Regions from separate parts of the Homo sapiens genome. Here all the other regions are linked to region 1. The links are contacts of gene promoters, found by promoter capture Hi-C in blood cells and fetal thymus (Javierre and others, 2016). All regions are on one chromosome and are shown on one strand. Each heading gives the region's core, a stretch centred on a gene start or on the middle of the fragment in contact. The rest is flanking DNA. Distances are from core to core; before and after follow the strand shown.

Region 1 (3,195 bases), core at 495-2,994:
AGGAAATTTGGCAGGAACTCCTTAAGGAGAGAAAAGAAAAGCAGTCAAAAAAAAATGTATTGAGACACCACCTATCATTACACTGAATGTTCCACTGATACTCTTGCTGAGGTCAGGCTGAGCTGGGGATCAATGCAGGTAATTGCTGGAGGGGCTATAAGAACTTCCAGGGCCAGAAAGAGGAGAAGAATTTGAAATCTGACCTACAGAAGACGGAGGAGGTCCTTAAACACCATGACAAGAAAAATAGGTGTAGATAGGGGGAAAGTTGTTGCTTATAAACACCCAGGAACCCTCCCCCAGTTCACCAGCTTTTACAGACAAGGCCGAGAGCCCAACTTTGCCCCTGGATGGCACAGGACTCTGGGTTACTTTCTTCCTCTAACTGAGTCTCAGTTTCCTCCTGGGCAGAAGGGGAGGACTGAATACTGTGATGTCCATTCTGGTTCTTCCAGGCTAGGCACATATCTGTAATCTCAGACGGTGCCAGTCAGGAACACCAAGCTTCCTGGAATCCCAGGACTGGCAGAGGCCAGTGCCCACTGACAGGTACAGTGCTGGGCCATATGGGCTGTGGCTGCATTAGAGAAGTTCACTCTCACCAGAGTGTCTCCAGCAAGAGACAAGACAGCATGAAACCCCATGTGACCCAGGGGGAGAAGGACCTCCACAGAGGCCCAACCCCGGGCGGACCTACCTGGCTCCCACACTGGTCCCTCGCCGTCCTGTCGATTTTGGCCATTTCTTCATCTGGATCCTGCAAAAACTAACATGAAGCCACCCCCATGACCCCAAGGAAACACACCAAACAAGACAAAAACAGAGAGAAGAAGAGAAAGCTGATCAGGTTATGAGCTCCGTTCCTGCCCAAGGGACCCCCGCCCCCGTAGGCAGAGCCAAGTCGGGTACCCAGGTGAGATGGGGGGGATGCTCCCCAACCTGTCTCTTTTGTACTCACAACGGTCACGTTTGCCTTCCTCTTCCTGGAGCGAGCCGAGAACTCCGCGCCGCCGTCCTCCTTCATGGTGTCCCGCTCCTTCGCATCCCTGTGGACCCGGGTGGCACCGGGCCGGGTGAGCACCCGCGGCCGCCCCTCCCCCACGCCACCCGTCCCGTCCCGTCCCGTCCCGTCCGGCCCCGCGGCGCGGGCACTCACCGCTCCCTGCGCTCCCTCGGCATGATGGGGCTGCTCCGGCCTGAGGCCTGCGGGGCGGCGCGGGGTGAGGCGGCGGCGGGGTCAGGCCGCGGGCCCAGTACCCCTTCCCCCTTTGCGCGCGGGCGGCCGGGCGAGCCAGGAAGATGGCCGATGGCGGGGTGGCCTGTCACCCGCGACCCGGGCACCCGCCGACCCCCGACCCGGGGTCCCGCCGCCCCCGCCGCCCTCACCGGCCCGTCGCCTCCCGGGGCCCGGGCTGCCTCAGTGTCCCCTCCACCCCACCCCGCCGCGCTCTCAGCACCCTCCCGGGCGCCCCGCGACGCCGCCCGGGGACCCGCGACCCGGCCGCACCCCGCCCCCACCCAGCTCCCCGGCGCGGTCTGGGCCCCAGGAGTCCCTGTCCGCAGCCCGCGGCAGTAGACTCACCAGGGTCTTGTCCGCGGCGGACGGCGCGCTCCAGTCCCGGCAGGCGGCGGCGGCGACGGCAGTGGCGGCGGCGGCGCCGGGAGTCGGCGGGCCGAGCGCGCGGCGGTGGCGGGATCCGCGCCTGCCCCCTACACCGCGCTGGCGGCCGCGCCGGCTGCTCCTGCGCCCGGCTCAGAGCGGGACATTTAAAATCCCTGCGCGCGGAACCGGCCCCGGCCCGCCCTCGCACCGCCCCGCCGCGGCTCCCAGCCCCTCAGCGGCCGCGCGGGACCCAGAGCCCGTCCCGCCCCGTCCCTCGCCCCGCCCCCGGACCCGCCCCTCCACGGCGCCGGCCCGCGAGGCGCAGGGACGGGGAATCAGGGGCGGGGCCGGCGGACAGGGCGGGGCCAAGTGACAGGGCCTGCGCGCCGAGGGCCGGGCGCGGGGCGCGGGGCGCGGGACGCGGGGCGGGGCGGCGGGCGGGACGCGGGAGAAGTCTGGCGCGCGGCGGCGAGGGGCGGGCCGCGGGCGCCGGGGGCGGGGCCGAGCGGCGCTGGAGCGGCAAAAAGCCGCGTGGCTGGCGCGGGTGGAATGTAAACACGGCGGGCGGCGCGGGTTCGGGCCCCGGCAGGGCTGAGCCAAGGGGATGTGTGGGGGGCCTACCCGAGGAGCACCGCCCGCCGTTCCTCCGCGCGCGCTGTCCCGCCAGGCACGCCCTCCCCGCCCCCGAGACGCCGAGTTCCGGGCCCTGAGTCCTGGGCGGGGACATCCCCAAGGTCACCGCGCCTGTGCCTTGGCCTAGAACCAAGGCTTCAGGCCGCGGGGTCTGGGGCTCCCTGGGGGCCGGCTGCTATTCCTGGCCGCCTGTCCATTCATCCGTCAGTGCATTGGGTCGTTCATTCATTCATTCAAGGAATCTGTGAGTTCCTTCCATGCGCCCCTTCCATATGCGCCCCTCCCCCGCAAGCCCTTCCTGGCTCTCTGAAGACCTTTCTGACTCTGGGATTCCCTTGCACCCCATCTCTCACTTAAAGCCTTCCAGTTGAGGCCGGGCGCGGTGGCTCACGCCTTTAATCCCAGCATTGTGGGAGGCCGAGACGGCTGATCCCTTGGGGTGTTCGAGACCAGCCTGGGTAACAGTGAGACCCCCATTTCTACAGAAAAAGAAACAAAAAGCCTTCCAGTTGTTTCGCATAAGGGTCAAATCCACACTCCGTGTCCTAGGCTACAGGCTCCACAGGACCTGACCCTGATCCCCCACCCTCAGACCTCAGGCCTCCTCTCCACAGCTCCTCTGTCCTTTCTCCCTCAAGACTTGTATTTTTTATTGTGGCGGGGGGTGGGGGGTGGCAGGTAGGGATAGGGTCTTGCTATGTTGCTCAGGCTGGTCTCAAACCCATGAGCTCAAGCGATCCTCCCGCCTTGGCCTCCCAAAGTGCTGGGAGCCCAGCCCCTACACAGTCTTGGTGCCTCTCTGTTTCTTGTCTCTCTCCCCACCTTGCCCATCTTGCTCACTGCTGTATCTGTCAGTTCTTGGCATAGTGCCTGGACCAAGGGAGACACTTAAATTGTTTCTGAATGAACATTTGAAAGACAGGCACTGGCCAAGCCCTTGCAGGGCTTACCGGCTAATG
Region 2 (2,766 bases), core at 71-2,570, 2.8 Mb before region 1:
TTCTTGGTTTAACCCTTAAGTTTGTTGAAACACATTTTTAAGTAATTGTCTTTAAAAAGTCTGTGATAGACAAATTTTCTATATTGTCATATGTCTAAATATTTAATTGACCATAACACTTGACTAATTCATGGTTGGTTATAGACTTTTGGATAAAATATTTTCCCCTCAGAATTACTTTAAATTAAAATATAATACAAAATGTTATTTTTAATTTACCCTTCTAACTTTGTTATATATTAGTAATTTGTAAAATTCCTTACTTTACATTGTGAAAACCATCAAATCTATAAAAATTGGAGGAATAGTACAAAGAACGTGTATATATCTTTCCCATACATTCATTAATCATTAAGTTTGCCACATTGACTTTATATGTCTACACACACATACATACGTGTGTGCATATGCACACACACACACACAGTTTTTTTGAACCATTTGAAGGTTTCAAATATGTCAGTTCACTCCTAAGTGTATATCCTAAGAACAAAGATATACTCATATATAATATAATTATTGTACCCAATACATTAATATAGATAAAATAGTATCATCTACTTGATGTAGCCCACATTTGTCTCTCCAGTTATTCAAATAACCTTCACCACCACTGTTTGTTTTCTTGTCAGTTCGTGATCCAGTTGTGTTTAGTGTCCACTCCCTTTGGAGTATAAAGGTACATCTCATCTGTCTTCTAGCATTTGGTGTTCGTGATACAAAAATCTGATTCCTATTCCTTCGTGAGTGGTGTTTTTTTTTTTTCTCTTTCTGAAAGCTTTTGGTCAAGTGTGATGACTCACAGCTGTAATCCCAGGACTTTGGGAGGCTGAGGTGGGAGGATCGCTTGAGGCTGGGAGTTAGAGACCAGCCTGGGCAACATGATGAGCCTAGTGAGAACCCTCTCTCTACAACAACTTAAAAATTAGGGCATGGTGGTGCATACCTGTAGTCCCAGCCACTTGGGAAGCTGAGGTGGGAATTGCTTGAGCCTAGGAATTTTCCTGGGTGAGAGTGAGCCCCGAAAGAGAGAAAGAGAGAGAGAGAGAGAGAGAGAGTGAGAGAGAGAGAGAGAGACAGAGGGAGGGAGGGGAAGAAAAGGGGAAGGGGAAGGGGAATGGGAAAGGAAGAAGGAAGGAGGGAAGGAAAGAAAGAGAAAGAAAAAGAAGAGAAAGAAAAGTTTTAGAATCTTTCCTTTTCCTCCCAGGATTCTGAAATTTTGCAAAGGTTTGGGCCTTTTAAAAGCCCTTGTCCTGTTTGCTTGGTAGATTCTTTTGATCTGGAAACTTCTACCTTTAACTTTTGGGCAATTTTGTTTTGTTGTCCATTTGATACTTTTTTCCTCTTTGATTTCTATCTTTCTCTATCTGGGACAACTGTAAACTGGGCCTCCTGGATAAATCTTTCATATCCCTTTTCTTTCATGTCTTCCATCTCGGTCTTTTTGTCCTACTTTATGGAAGGCTTCTTCTGTTTTATCATCTGACCTTTCTCTTGAATTTATTTAAGCCATTATATTTTTATTTTATAAGAACACTTTCTTGTTCCCTTATTGCACCGTTTAAAAATTTATTTATTTACTTATTCTCCTTACTCTGTTTATGCAGCATTATCATGCTGTTTGCGTACTATCTTGTTCTTGATTTTTGAGTGTAATAACTTCTTAAATATTGTTATAATAATAATTGGAAACCAATTAAACATCCTCTTTCATTTCCTGAGTTAGTCCTCTTTCTTTTCAGGTTGTTTTTATACCTGATTATTTTTCTTGGCCTCTGTTGTAAGGGTACCCAGGATTTGTTTAAATTAGATATGCGAAGACATACAGGCACGGAATTGACGGTCATGAAGGAAAAAGCTTAGATTCACAGACCGCCAGAAACAGGAGGCAGGGCACACCACACAGGGGCCAGGGGCAGTCACGAGGCAGAGGGAAGAGGGTAAAAGTGGACGAGAGCCTTTTTTGTGAGTTCTGTGAGAAGGAACAGGTGAGGCAGATACGCAGGCTCAGGATTGGCTAGTTTGAGTAATTTTTGTGGGCTCTGCTTCTAATAGTCTGGTACTGGGCCCTGGGGTGACTAGGGCAGAGAAATAGTTGCCCTGAGTGTAACAGCCCTGTGAGGGCCCTGAAACGGAGGTGGTTGGGGAATGACTTCTGGATTGGCTGGTGTGCATCTGAAAGCTGTGCTCACAGGAGAGTCACTTACTATCTTTAGGATGTGGCTAGCCCTGGGAGGGACCATCCCTCCAGGGTCAGCAAGGCCCCAAGATGTCAGAGCATCAAAAACAGAAACTAGAAAATGCATGGTGCATAGATACCATGGAATACTATGCAGTCATAAAAAAGAAAGAAATTATGTTCTTTGCAGCAACATGGATGCAGCTGGAGGCCTTTATCCTAGGCAAATTAACACAGAACAGAAAACCAAAAATTGCATGTTCTCACTTATAAGTGGGAGCTAAATCTCGGGTGCACGTGGACATAAAGATGGAAACAACAGACACTGCGGACTCTGACAGTGAGACGGAGGGAGGAGGGGAATAGTTGAAGAACTCTCTGTTGGGTACTATGTTCATTATATAGGTAACAGGATCAATAGAAGCCCAAACCTCAGCATCATGCAATACACCTGTGTAACAAACCTGCACGTGGACCCCTGTATCTAAAATTTTAAAATAAGAAAACATGGTTATTATAGTCTCTCCCACATGCCATAGGCTGTCATTAGATAGTTGGTGGTCCTTGATTAGCCTGTTCATTTTTTT
Region 3 (2,879 bases), core at 372-2,871, 2.0 Mb after region 1:
ACACCCCTTGTTCTGAAATTAACAGCCTGCAGGGGTGTCCTCAGTATCAGAACTAGTGGGCCACACAAAGCCCTGGAGGACTCTACAAACCCAGGTCCATGGGGAGCAGCCCTGTAAGGGCCAGATGGCTGGGTGGAAAAGCTGACCAAGTCTTCCTTCCTTTCAGCCAAATCTGGAAGAAAGGCACCTTGCCTAGAGCAGTGTTCCTGGTACCCAGGCCTCTGTGGGCATCCTTCAGCACAAAGACCCTCTCCAAGGGGGGATGGGCTGGCCCTCCCAGGACCACCAACCCACTTCCAGAAGCCCATGGGTCATCCCCACCTTCACCTGACTGGGCTGTCCCTGACGCTAAGGCCCAGCAGCACGAAGGGGATTCCACACAAATCAGGGCAGTAGGCTGCTCTCTGGCGGCACTGGGGGCTTAGGGTCTGGCCAGCCTGTCCCTGGCTCAGGACACATGCCTGGAAATTAGGGTTTTCTCCTCTGCTCTTAGCATCTCCTGGGTAAACCAATAATTACTCTCCCTCATGTCTCAAAATTCACATCTATCTAAAAGGCGCTAGTGAGGGTGACATTTCCAGGAAGCCATAGCCCATGTCACCCCCTGCAAAGCTGTGACCTTTTCCGCGGGCAGGCCAGGCGGCGGAGTTCTCCCAAAAGCGGATGAACTGGCACTCTGGCTGGAGAAAGCAGAGAGCAGCAGCACAATGGACAGCGTCTGGGACCTCAGGCCGATTCCACAGCAGCTTAGGAAAGCAGGAGGCCCCCTGGGCGGGAGGAGGCTTGATGCTCTGGAGGGAAACGGAACTGAGCAGCGGGAGGTGGGGTGAGCCTGAGACCCGACCGATTTTGGCAAAGGCGAGGCGCACTTTGCAGTATCATACTCTCCTCACTGCCCAGCCCAGACCTGCCCTTCAAGTCCCTCTATGGACTCACTCCCCTTAGCCAGGGGTGGCACAGATTCAGTAGCCAGCATGGGTTTGGAAACAGAGGTCAACACCGCCCTGCCCCTCCCTGCGGGGCTGCGCAACACCCTTGAACCCTGCGCATGCTGAGACTGTAGTCCCATAGCCCTGCGACCAACGGCCGGAAGCAGCTAAGACACTATTACCAGCATGCCCGGCAGGAGGGCACCGCGCTGCCCCCCCCCCTCAAGGGACCAGCATCATCCCCACTCCCGTAGCATACTGGGATTGTAGTCCCGCAGCTCTGCCACCAACAGCCAGAAGCAGTTAAAAAACTGTTCCTCTCAGCATGCCCTGCAAGGCGCGCACCGCTGCTGTACCTCCCTTAACGTATCCGTAACCTCCCTCAACGTATCCGTACCTCCCTCAACGTATCCATACCTCCCTCAAGGTATCCGTACCTTCCTCAAGCTATCCGCACCACCCTCTCTTCCATTTCATGCGAAGATTGTAGTCCCGCAGCCCTGCGACCAGCGGCCGGAAGCAGCTAAGATGCTACTGCTCCCAGCATGCCCCGCGAGGCGCGCACAGCACAGGCCCTCTCTCAAGGTCACCACCTCCACTCCCGTTGTATGCTGGGATTGTAGTCCGGCCGCCCTGTGACTAACGGCTGGAACCGCCTAAGACACCACCCCAGCCAGCATGGCCGGCAGGAGCGCACCGCGCTGTCTCCCTCCAGGGATCCGCACCGCCCTACAATCCTGCTTTGTGCTGAGATTGTAGTCCTGCAGGCGTACAACTAACAAGCTGGGTGCAGATAAGAGACTACAGCTCCCCGCATCCCAAGCAAAGGTCCCTCCTCTACGGAGCCCCTCCACGCGTCCACTGCGGTTCCGCCGTGCCAAGGGGAGCTTGGCTGTTCACGGGCCTCACCTGCTAGCGAGAAGATAGCTTGGCCGGGCGGCTGATCTCACCTTGTAATTCTGACACTGTGTCTCCCGGGCTTGTCGGCTTCATGACTTGTGCCCAAAGTTTGATTTCTCGCAGACCAGGTAAAAGCCAAGAGGCTCTCATAGGCGCCTTGGCAGAGTTGCCATTGGAACGGGCGTCCTCTAGTAGCTGGGATCTCCCCGCCCCTTCCTCCTGAGGGGCCACTCCTTTCTGCCCCACCCTTCTTATTGCCCCACCCTTTGCCACACTCCTTCAGAGATGCGCAGTGCTGCCCCTTTCTATGGGCAGGGCCGAAGGTCCGCGTGTAAAAGTACCCAGTCCCTGGTAACCTGACACTTCCCTTTTAAAAGCCACCTTTTGTCTATCTCTGGCCTGCCACGATTCTTCCTGTGCTCCATAGGAGGACCCATTGGACCCCCGGGCTGGCTGCAGGGCCCACACCTGGGTTAGACCTCGCACAGGGACGCTGCTGCCACTGTAATAAAGCGTGCCTACACGCTTCTGAAACTGGTGTAGGAACAACCTCAGTTCTGTGAAAGGCGGACGCAGCAGGACAGAATCTCCGTGGACATCTGTCTGGAGGAGCAATTTTACTGCGACATTTTAAAGAAACAAATTTAATTGATTTCCAAGGTAAGAAATTAAACCTTGAAAACTAAACTGAAAAGTCATCTGTGTTTGACAAGTCAGACTTTCTCCAAGAAGAAAACTAAGGAGTGCATATTTTCCATTATTATAAATAGTGAAAATGAGAAATCATAGCAACTCCCTGGAAAATCTTGCTCTGCCAGTTTTCTAAATCACAGTAGGGCCTCGATATGGTTTTATTTGTTTTTGTTTTTGTTTTGGAGTGTGTTCACCTTTTGAATATAAGAATTTGCGGTTTTGACCAAGTTTTTAAATTTTCAGCTATTGTTTATTTGTTTTTGTATTATATTTAATTTTTCTGTCTCTCCCTCTCTGTCTCAGACTCAATCATTTCACAGGTCTCTTAGGCCTCTTTTCATTTTCTTTAAACTTGTT
Region 4 (3,125 bases), core at 412-2,911, 2.6 Mb before region 1:
CAGTTTGTGCATATATATATATATATAAAATTAAAAGTTTCACAAAACAATCCTCAACCCTACTAGATGTGATAGTATTCTTTCTTTTTGATTTCATTAAGAAAAATGTTACTCATGACCTACTGCACTAATTTCACAATCTATAACTTGAAAAATACTAATTTAGAATAACTGCTAAATAAATGGAATAAGTTAATGAAAAAGAAAAAACTCACTTGATTATAAAAATTCTGGGCTGGGTGCTATGGCTCATTCTCATATTTTGGAAGACCAGGGCAGTAGGATCGCTTGAGCCCAGGAGTTCGAGACCAGCATGGGCAACAAAGTGAGACCCTGTCTCTACAAAAAAATCAAATTTAGCTTGGTGAGGTGGTGCATGCCTGGGGTCCCAGTGACACAGGAAGCTTAGGCAGGATACTCACTTGAGCCCAGGAGGTTGAGGCTGCAGTGACCCATGTTTGCACCACTGCATTCTAGCCTGGGTGACAGAGCAATACCCTATCTCAAAAAATTAAAATGAAAAATAAAGATTCTGGCTGGACGCAGTGGCTCACGCCTGTAATCCCAGCACTTTGGGAGGCTGAGACAGGCAGATCACAAGGTCAGGAGTTCGAGATCAGCCTGGTCAATATGCTGAAACCCCGTCTCTAGTAAAAATACAAAAATTAGCTGGGTGTGGTGGCACGCACCTATAGTCCCAGCTACTTGGGAGGCTAAGCCAGAAGAATCACCTGAACCTGCGAGGCAGAGGTTGTAGTGAGCCAAGATTGCGCCACCGCACTCCAGCCTGGGTGACAGAGTGAGACTCCATCTCAAAAATAAATAAATAATAAAGAAAAATTTAAAAAAAGATTCTAATATGTTATTTTAAAATAATAAACACAAAAGTTATTTCACTCTATAGTCCAACCTTTCTAGAGATTGGATTCTTTATGGCAAAACTGTGTTGCCTTGGTCATTCATCCACATGGCTTACTACTGGAGATCCCACTGAGTGAATGATACAATGGTCAAAGAAACTCCATACCTTAATATTAGAAAACCATAAATCATTTTCATGTAACGTGGCAAGGTAGACAGATGTAAGAAGTCCAATGCAAAGGGCAATGGTTCCACCAATTGTCAATGACAAAATCTTCCATAATCTTCTACTGGTACAACCTTTTGGAAAAATGGAACAGATAAATAACTAAGTCAGTAAAAAAATCAGAATGTAATAGTTCTACTTCAGATTATCAAGTAAGCTAAGTCTAGCTGCCTGTCACTGGGAAAGCTTTTCCTGTCTCCAGCGGAGGGTCCTTTCTGATTCCACAGACCTGTTTTCATTCTATTACAACTGTTACCCCGTATCTAACTGTCCATGTGTCCATTCTGCCAACTACAACGTGAGCTTCTTGAAGACAAATACATTATCTTATTCATGTTTAATACTGAGGGCCTCTGTCCGGCACAGTTTAACAACCGTAATTTAACTATGAAGTCTGTTAAATGGATGACTAAATGTGTTACGTGTCTAGGACGTAATCGATCTTTTAGATAATCTAGGTACAATTGGTGGCTTATTCTTTAAAAGCTATTTTAAAAACTTGATTACCTAAAAAATAATTATTGTTTTTTGAGACAGGATCTTGTTCTGTTGCCCAAGATGGAATGCAGTAGTGCAATCTCGGTTCACTGCAACCTCTGCCTCCTAGGTTCAAGCAATTCTCCCACCTCAGCCTCCTGAGTAGCTGGGACTACAGGCACATGCCACCATGCCTGGCTAATTTTTGTATTTTTAGTAGATACAGGGTTTCACCATGTTGGCCAGGCTGGTCTTGAACTCCTGACCTCAAGTGATTCACCCACCCAAGCTGGGATCCTAAAGTGCTGGGATTACGGGCATGAGCCACTGCACCTGGCCGATTACCTAAAACTTTTTTTTTAAACCCACAGGTTTTGCAGGAATGCTCTGGGGGGAAAAACCCACAGAATAAATAATCCAACATAACTCAAGTTAAAGGACATATAAACTAGGCAAAATATGGATAGCACATATAAGAAAGCTTAAATACCCTTAACATAAGATGAATACTTTCAGGACAATTTATTTTATTTCAGGACAATTTATTGTCCTGTCAAGATGAATACTGCAGTAGGAAAAAGATTAAGGACATGAACAGGCAATGTACAATAGAAAAAAGTGGCCAATAATAATAACAGACTGAAGATGTTTAAATTCATTAATGTTAAAGAAATGCAAATCAAAACTGTGAGTTATACTTAAATCTTGGCCAATTTGACAGCTTTCAAAATGCTAATACTGTTTTGGTAAGGGTATAAAAAATAGACATCTTCAAACATTGCTGCTAGAAGAATAAATTGGTGCCTCTCTGGAATGCAACATGGCAGCAGTGAGTAAAAGCCACCAAAATGAGCATCCCATTTGGCCAGTAATTCCCAATCTAGGCATGTACCCTGCTGTGGTTTGACTATTCGGCCCCTCCAAATCTCATGATGAAATGTGATTCCCAATGTTGGAGGTGGGGCCTAATGGGAGGTGGTGTGGTGATGGAACCAGAGCCCTTATAAACAGGTTGGTGAGATTCTAGCAGTACTGAGTTTTCATTCTGTTAGTCCTAGGGGAGCTGGTTGGTTAAAAAAGAGCCTGACATCCTGTGTTCCCTGGAAATTGCTTCTACTCTGGTCATGTGATCTCTACACACTGGCTCCCCTAAGTCTTCTGCCACGACTGGAAGCTTCCTGAGGTCTCACTAGAGGCAGATGCTGGTGCCATGCTTCTCATACAGTCTGCAGAACCCTGAGGCAAAGAAACCTCTTTTCTTTATAAATCACCTAGCCTCAAGTATTCCTTTATAGCAACAGAAATGGACTAAGACATGCCCCAAGGAAATAAAGTTTTAAACAAACATATGGCCACAAGGAAATTGATCACAGTTCTGTCTGTATTAGCAAATGGTAAGAAAACCTTTCACTTCTACAGTGGCAGCTATAAAAATACTTTACATAGATGATATTTCAAAAATACGTTAACTGGCTTATGACATGTTCATAACATAATAAGAGAAAAATAGCAAGCTACAAAACAGCACGTGGATCCCAATTTTGCAAAACTGTATACGAAT

Evidence for each region. The method cuts DNA at HindIII sites, captures the fragments that hold promoters and counts their contacts. A CHiCAGO score of 5 or more calls a contact.
Region 2: a contact is called between a fragment that was not itself captured here and the fragment with the promoter of CCNE1 in region 1, in 1 of 17 cell types (total B cells). The highest score is 5.5, in total B cells.
Region 3: a contact is called between a fragment that was not itself captured here and the fragment with the promoter of CCNE1 in region 1, in 2 of 17 cell types (naive CD8 T cells and total CD8 T cells). The highest score is 5.7, in naive CD8 T cells.
Region 4: a contact is called between a fragment that was not itself captured here and the fragment with the promoter of CCNE1 in region 1, in 2 of 17 cell types (activated CD4 T cells and non-activated CD4 T cells). The highest score is 5.8, in activated CD4 T cells.

What each region holds. Positions count from the first base shown.
Region 1 is chr19:29,810,540-29,813,734 of GRCh38, reverse strand. CCNE1 (cyclin E1) reads right to left here and starts at 1,744. Exons shown (of 12, transcript NM_001238.4): 1 at 1,583-1,744; 2 at 1,157-1,203; 3 at 959-1,046; 4 at 698-766. The coding sequence starts at 1,179. RefSeq lists a silencer at 1,661-2,290. The HindIII fragment of the contact is 7,130 bases long and covers 507-3,195 here.
Region 2 is chr19:32,575,359-32,578,124 of GRCh38, reverse strand. No RefSeq gene overlaps it. Among named protein-coding and RNA genes, the nearest start is that of PDCD5, 4.4 kb to the left of the region's middle. The HindIII fragment of the contact is 1,080 bases long and covers 781-1,860 here.
Region 3 is chr19:27,792,610-27,795,488 of GRCh38, reverse strand. LINC00662 (long intergenic non-protein coding RNA 662) reads left to right here and starts at 1,549. Exons shown (of 3, transcript NR_027301.1): 1 at 1,549-1,957; 2 at 2,257-2,489. LINC02987 (long intergenic non-protein coding RNA 2987) reads right to left here and starts at 2,058. Exons shown (of 7, transcript NR_146733.1): 1 at 1,880-2,058. RefSeq lists enhancers at 1-170, 1,337-1,816. The HindIII fragment of the contact is 5,184 bases long and covers 1-2,879 here.
Region 4 is chr19:32,409,275-32,412,399 of GRCh38, reverse strand. It overlaps DPY19L3 (dpy-19 like C-mannosyltransferase 3), which reads right to left. Exons shown (of 19, transcript NM_001172774.2): 3 at 1,028-1,161. Among named protein-coding and RNA genes, the nearest start is that of DPY19L3, 5.1 kb to the right of the region's middle. The HindIII fragment of the contact is 772 bases long and covers 1,276-2,047 here.